2 separate regions of the Homo sapiens genome follow, and region 2 is linked to region 1. The links are contacts of gene promoters, found by promoter capture Hi-C in blood cells and fetal thymus (Javierre and others, 2016). All regions are on one chromosome and are shown on one strand. Each heading gives the region's core, a stretch centred on a gene start or on the middle of the fragment in contact. The rest is flanking DNA. Distances are from core to core; before and after follow the strand shown.

Region 1 (3,821 bases), core at 228-2,727:
TGAGACAGGGTCTTGCTTTGTTGCCTAGGCTGGAGTGCAGTGGTGCGAACATGGCTCACTGCAGCCTCAACCTTCCAGGCTCAAGTGATCCTCCCACCTCAGCCTCTCCAGTAACTAAGACTACAGGCACCTGCCACCATGCCCGGCTATTTTTTAAATTTTTATGTTTGGCAAGATGGGGTTTCTTTACATTGCCCAGGCTGGTCTCGAACTCCTGGCCTCAAGTGATCCTCCCGCCTCGGCCTCCCAAAGTGTTGGGATTACAGGCGTAAGGCACTGTGCCAGAGCACGAATACTGTATTTTCAATCAGATTTTGGTTGAAAAAAAGCCACGTGTAAGTGGACTCGTGCAGTTCAAACCCGTGTTGTTCGAGGGTCAAGCGTAGCATCACCTCGGTTGGAGGCGGACGGACCCCTCTCCTAGCACCTGCCGTACACTGTCTAGCATAATAAGTCTCCACGCCCTCTCTTCCACCTTAGCGTGTGCCTCTGCATCATGCTATTCATGTTTCTGTGTGTCCTCAACAGCACCCTGCACACAGTAAAACCTCAATGCATCTTCCAATAAGTGGATTTCTAGATTTAAGCAAAATCGAAAGATTCCTGGATCTAAACTCTGGATTTTTGACTTCTGTACGCTTCAAAATGCCTGGCACTCGGTGAGCGCCCCTTAAGCACTTGTTGAACCAAACAGAATAAATCGGATTCGCCCAGTTCCGCCCTGGCAGCGAGGTCTGCATTTGGCAGGATGACAGAATCCATTGCTATTAAATTCTTATGTAAGAGTTAATGGCCCTCCCAGCCCACTTGACATCCCTCCCGAGACAAGAGAGGCCGGGAAAGGAAGGGAGAGCACTATTTACAAACATACACTGTTTCGGTGGTGGATTCACAGATTCATTTCTAGTCTCGGTTCACCACAGAGATCTTAAAATACCGCTGCAGGCTCCGTGTGGGACAGAGGGGGCGGCGTGCCGGGACTCGGAGGGGAAGGCCTGCGCACCCAGCGCGGCGAGCCGTGGTCCTTGCTGCCGTCCCGGGGCTCCGGGTGGCAGCGGCCCCAGAAGGCGGCTCGAGCTCACGGCGGTGTCCGGGGGGGGGCCCCGCGGGCGCCGGTGCAGGCTTGGCCTGGGAGGTCCCCTGGGGAAACAATGCGTCCCGCCCCGGACTCCAGCCTCCCCTAAGCGCCGCGCTGCTCGCCGCTCCTCTCACTGCCGTCCCGCCGCTCCAGGGGGCGCCGCGCGTGGCCGTGTCCGGCCTCTCCCGAGCCCCGGCGGGTGACGGGCGCGGAACATGGCGGCGCGGGGCCCCGGGCAGCCGCGAGGGGCCGCGGCGCTGCGGTCTCGGCTGGGGCGGCGCGGCTAGAGCTGCGCCTGGGCCCGCCGGCGAGGCCTCCTCCCCGCCCGCCGCCGCCGCCGCCGCCGCCGCGCCCCGCCCCGCGCGCCCGCCCCTCCCCGGGCCGCGGCCGTGCCCCGCGTCGCGCTCCCCCGGGATGGCCCGCGCGCCTCGGCGCTGCCTCTCGGAGCTCACGGCGGAGCGGCGGCGGCCGCGCTCGAGGGGCGCGCGGCTGCAGCGGCGGCGGCGCCGCGCGTGAGGGGCCGCCTAAGGCCGAGCGGGCGCGGCGAGCGGCCGGGCGAGCGCAGCCAACATGTCGGATACCAAGGTAAAAGTTGCCGTCCGGGTCCGGCCCATGAACCGACGAGGTGAGGAGCTTTCCGCTCTTTTTTATTTCTGCTCGGGCTGAGGGCGGGGGCAACTTTAGAAACTGCGGGGCCGGGACGGCGAGAGCGCGGCCGGGGCCGGGGGGCCGGGGCGGAGGCGGCGTCCGCGCTGGCCGTGGTGCCCGGGGCGCCGTCTCCAGGCTCGGCCGCCTCCAGGGACGGAGCCCCGCTCGGCGCGGCTGGCGGGCGGGCGGGCTGGAGGCGCGGATGCTGGACTTTGCAACGTCCCTTTCTCTCTGCTTTCAGAACTGGAACTGAACACCAAGTGCGTGGTGGAGATGGAAGGGAATCAAACGGTCCTGCACCCTCCTCCTTCTAACACCAAACAGGGAGAAAGGTAAAGCGGGTTCCGAGAGGGCGGCTGGGAGGATCCAGCCTCGCGGGGTCCCGCAAGTTTGAGCCAGGAAAATGGGAGTGCTCTTTCCTATTGTTAGGAGGACGGCTTCAAGTTTGTCGCCGGCTCCTGTTTGAAGCTGTTGCAAGTCCAAGTTCCTCTCCTCCCTCGCCCCCCTTCTCCTCCATCTAGAGCGGCGGCAGGCAGGGCACCCTGGCCACAGCACCAGTCAGCTGAGCCCGGGCGGGCTGCGAGGCACCCGGGAGGGAGAGGGCCGGATGGGACCCCATAGGTGATTCGTCCAGCGGCCACATTTTACAGACAGGAAAACTGAGGCCCGAGGCGGGCAGGTGACCAGCCCACGACCTTATTGTTCGTGGAACCCAGTGTCCGTGATTCTTTTCATCACTGCAGGGTTTGTTTCCTTTGGCAGAATTGTTTAGGGACAGTGTGTCTAAAATGGGAGGAAAAAATAAAGCAAAAGTCTTGTACGATGTAGACTCAGGCTGGACTAGTTAGTATCTATTTTAGTTGTTGTTGCTGAGTTGAGATAATGCCTCAATGTAATGCGCGAATTTTGATTTTCAAAGAAACAAAAGTAGGGCCCTGAACTGTATAGACACTGAGGGATGTTTAAAAAGGGGCTGTATTTACTAGATGGCAACATATTTGCATTTGAAAAGTGGTAACTGTTGGATCCTTATTAATTCCGTTCTGTTCCATGCAACAGTATGGGTTAACGCCCCAAAATAATTTGAATATTTGGCATTTTTCTAGTAAGCCTCTGAGAAGAAATCGGTTGGAATTCATTCAATATAATAATGCAGTAGCTTGTAAATATATATATGTGAAAAAACGGGAGAGTTTACAATATTAATTTTCATTGGAAATGAATATGAGTTTGTGTTTCCACGAATCACCTGTTGATCGATGGAATACAATTTAGTGAATTTCCTTCTTCAGAGATTTTCACTGAAGAGAGACTCTGAAGCAGGGTTTGTGACATTATTGCTTAGAGAAGCAATGCCTCCATTCTATAATGTGTGGTGTTCAAGCTCAGTTTTGCCAAATTTGGGGAAAGAAATCATGAGGCGATAAGATTGGGGATTCTTTGCTTTTCGTGTTGAGCATAGCAGTTTTTATCCAGTTTGCAAACATTCTGCTACCTTTAGCAGATTCTGGTGGTGATATTAAATAGCTAAGCTATATGTAAAATGTTGTGTTTAACACTGAATGTAGTGTTTATTGTACATTGTACTGAATGTTGTCTAGTAATGGATGTATTTTTAGATGCATTTATAGCAGTGTAGATAGTATAGCATATTTCATGGTGATAGTAAGTAAACTCATTGAGTACATTAAATATTTACAGATTAAATTAGATGCCCATATCACCAACGAATGTCCCCTCCCCCCACCCCCCCGCAAACTGCATATTGTTTCGGGAAAAAATTCTGTTGGGTCAGATTCTTGAAAGCAGTCTGGGGGAACAGGTAGAATACTTTTTAGCTCCTGTTGTGTAGCCGTTACTTGTTTTCCTTGCTGGCTTGGCACCTGCTCCTTGTCACTCTTAACCATAAGCAGTGCGACTGTTAGCTACTGTTTAATGACATGAAGTGTTGTCATTTGTGAAGAGAAACAGATTTGATTTTGTGGGATTTGGTACAATCTATAACTGTGGACAGTTGGTTCCAAATGCTAAGTAATCAGTTGATCATTTTTCGGGCTGAACCACGTTAGTTACTAATCAGGATCTTTTAGGTAAA
Region 2 (3,558 bases), core at 588-3,087, 160 kb before region 1:
AAATGCGCCAGGTGTGGTGGCCTCCGCCTGTAATCCCAGCACTTTGGGAGGCCAAGACAGAAGGATCTCTTGAGCCCAGGAATTTGAGACCAGTCTGGACAACATAGACCCTGCCTCAAAAAATAAATTTAAAATAAAATATTAATAAATGTAAAATATAATAACCTAAAAAATGGTCTATTCTGAATATAAATATCGGTGACTAACGCAGAGTATGCATGCATTTTTTGGGAGTTGATTTTCAAGTAGAGATGATAGAATTTTTGCAGCCAGCAACCAATCAACTGTAGCTGAGAGCCTTTGTTAGAGGGCTGCTATGACTTTAAGATTCAAGTGTGGTCATGAAATTGAGAATATTTAAACTATATTATGACATATATTTTAACCAATTCATTGAGCCAGAAGAGATAGTTACTTTCAAAATTACCCTCAAAAAAAATTAACTCTATAAACAGATTGTCATGTGATGTCACCATAAATGGTAACAATGTAGTACAAACAGGTTCTGAGGCAACATTAGGAAAATGGTATGAAATAGCCAATTAAATGTGATTGTTGAATATTTGGGGTCTAAAGCCATTTGTAATAAAGACATTACAAAAAATATCAGAACTGGCCAGGTGCGGTGGCTCACACCTTTAATTAGGTGAGCGGATCACTTGAGGTCAGGAGTTCGAGACCAGCCTGGCCAACATGGTGAAAACCCATCTCTACTAAAAATACAAAAATTAGCCAGGCATGGCAGCGTACGCTTGTAATCCCAACTACCTGAGAAGCTGAAGCAGGAGAATTGCTTGAATCCAGGAGGCGGAGGTTGCAATGAGCCCATGCACTCCAGCCTAGGTGACAGAGTGAGACTCTGTCTCCAAAAAATATATATATATGTATATATACGTAAATACAGTTATTTTTATGTATATATATATATGAACTGAGCTACTGTAATTACATGTAAGAAGTTAAGAAGTTATGATAGTAGATGATTTTTCATTTATGTAACTGATCTATGTATTGAGGTCTATACAGACATGAGATGTGAATAGAAAAACTGACCATGAGCTAAGGCCAAAAAGCATTAAAACAAAATGTTTAAGATATTTAGGTTTAGGTTTTTGGTTTTTTGAGACAGTCCCACTCTGTCACCCAGGGTGGAGTGCAGTGGCATGATCATAGCTCACTGCAACCTTGAACTCCTGGGCTCAAGAGATCCTCCCTCCCAACATGCTGGGATAACAGGCATAAGCCACCACACTTGGTCTTATTTTGTTTTTATTACAGGTTGTAGTAGGCTATGCTTCATTTTTCCATCTGTTGAATGGGAAATAAAAACACATACAGCCAATTTGAATAATGTTTTTGTTTACATTTTATAACTTAAAAAATGTAGGGAGAATTTTTAAACTCCCTGTATGTTTACAGATATCCTAAGAAATACGAAAGATGAAAGACAAGTTATATGTTTCATTTTACAACTAAACAGTTCATGCTCTGCCCACATTGAAAGTACGTACTCTTTTGTAGATAAAAGGTACAGTCAGTCCTGCTATACTTGTTTCAAAACTGAATTCTAACTCAATTGATATATTAGGGAAAAATTTGAGCATGAAATAAATTTCACATTTGCTTGTGTGTGATTTCATCTATAAGAAGCCTTAGGTAAAAGCAGAAAACTGCACCCAGTTGAACTAAACCAGGTATGAATAGATGGAATGCACCAACATCCCCCAGCTACCTTAGTGAGCATTAGGTCTTTTTCACCGTAAAGTGCCATATTGTAGTATTTATCTATTTCTCAACCATTTAACATGTATAAAACTGTTATTATTAGGTTCCTGTTTTTGTTTTTTAATGTGGCACTGACCAAGTTTTTAAATGCTGTGCCCTCACTTTCCCCACCAGCCTGGGGATTTTTAGTGCGTGATTTAGCATAGTGCAGTGATTTTAGGAAGGCACTTGTTACATTATAGCAGAACTATGTTTTTATTTCACTTGACATAAAATCATAACTGTGCCTAGATATTTGTACCACTGGTACTGTTTTCTCTTGAGTCCAAGATCCTGAGACTGAATTCTGTTCATTATAAAACTTACCAGGACTGTAATCCCAGCACTTTGGGAGGCTGAGGCAGGCAGATCATTTGAGGTCAGGAGTTCGAGACCAGCCTGGCCAACACGGTGAAACCCCGTCTCTACTAAAAATACAAAAATTAGCCGGGTATGGTGGGGCACACCTGTAATCCCAGCTACTCTGGAGGCTGAGGCAGGAGAATTGGTTGAACTCGGGAGGTGGAGGTTGCAGTGAGCTGAGATTGTGCCACTGTACTCCAGCCTGGCTGACAGAGTGAGATTCTGTCTCAAAAAAAAAATTTTTTTTGAGGAAAAAATTTTCCTCTTTTCCTCAAAATTACCAGGAAAAGCCCGGGTGTGGTGGCTCACGCCTGTAATCCCAGCACTTTGGGAGGCTGAGGCAGGTGGATCACCTGAGTTCGGGAGCTCGAGACCAGCCTGGCCAACATGGTGAAACCCCGTCTCTACTAAAAATACAAAAATTAGCCAGGCATGGTGACAGGCACCTGTAATCCCAGCTACTCAGGAAGCTGAGACAGGAGAATCGCTTGAACCCAGGAGGTGGAGATTGCAGTGAGCCGAGATTGTGCCATTGCACTCCATCCAGCCTGGGCAACAAAGTGAGACTCCGTCTCAAAAATAAATAAATAAATAAATAAAATTACCAGGACAATGCTATTTGTATATGATAAAATATACAAATTTTTGGATAGTGTTTATTTTAAGCAAATGGAAACTACAAGATTAGTATACAAATGAGTGCTAATGTTCTAGACCTGTTCACTTTAGTACAGTAGCTACTAGCCACATGTGGCTATTTAAATGTAAACTAAATAAAATGTAAAATTCAGTTCCTCAATCACGAGGAACCAATGTGGCTAATGCCTATTTTATTGGACAGCGACAGATATAGACATTTTCATCAATGCAGAAAATTTTAATGGGCAGTGCTGATTTAGAGAAATTGAAAAGCATTTCCTCTAGTCAAATCAATTTGTATTAAATCAGTATTTTGTTATATATCTATAATTACATTCCAACTGTTTCATACATAAAAAAAGATATATATAATTTTCCAAATTTTTATTGTTTCCTGAATTCATATAAGTCAGTTTTTCAGAATTTTTATAAGGTTTGAAAATAATATAGATCTGCTTTCCTGCATGTTCTTTGAAACCCTATGAACCTGAATTCATATAAATTCCTCTAAATTAAAGAAAATATATGCTTACTCTAATATAACCCTCTATTTAGTCATTTGAAAACATAATTTAAGTGTAAATGTATGATTTTATGCAGGTTTGCAGACCGGGGACACAGTGTAGTTGGTGTGGAAATCAGTGAACTTGGGATACAAGAATTTTTTACAGAGCAGAATCTTTCTTACTCAGAAGAACCAATCACCGAAATTCCTGGAACCAAAGTATTTAAGGTTTGTTTTGATTTGGGTAAATAATTGTATCCATATCCCCACAAAAGTTTTTCTCAGTG

Evidence for each region. The method cuts DNA at HindIII sites, captures the fragments that hold promoters and counts their contacts. A CHiCAGO score of 5 or more calls a contact.
Region 2: a contact is called between a fragment that was not itself captured here and the fragment with the promoter of KIF13A in region 1, in 2 of 17 cell types (neutrophils and megakaryocytes). The highest score is 6.5, in neutrophils.

The regions. Positions count from the first base shown.
Region 1 is chr6:17,985,291-17,989,111 of GRCh38, reverse strand. It overlaps KIF13A (kinesin family member 13A), which reads left to right and starts at 1,477. Exons shown (of 39, transcript NM_022113.6): 1 at 1,477-1,703; 2 at 1,968-2,058. The coding sequence starts at 1,649. RefSeq lists silencers at 902-1,401, 1,772-1,891. The HindIII fragment of the contact is 11,131 bases long and covers 1-3,821 here.
Region 2 is chr6:18,143,537-18,147,094 of GRCh38, reverse strand. TPMT (thiopurine S-methyltransferase) reads left to right here. Exons shown (of 9, transcript NM_000367.5): 4 at 3,367-3,499. Among named protein-coding and RNA genes, the nearest start is that of TPMT, 9.8 kb to the left of the region's middle. RefSeq lists an enhancer at 1-375. The HindIII fragment of the contact is 3,795 bases long and covers 1-3,558 here.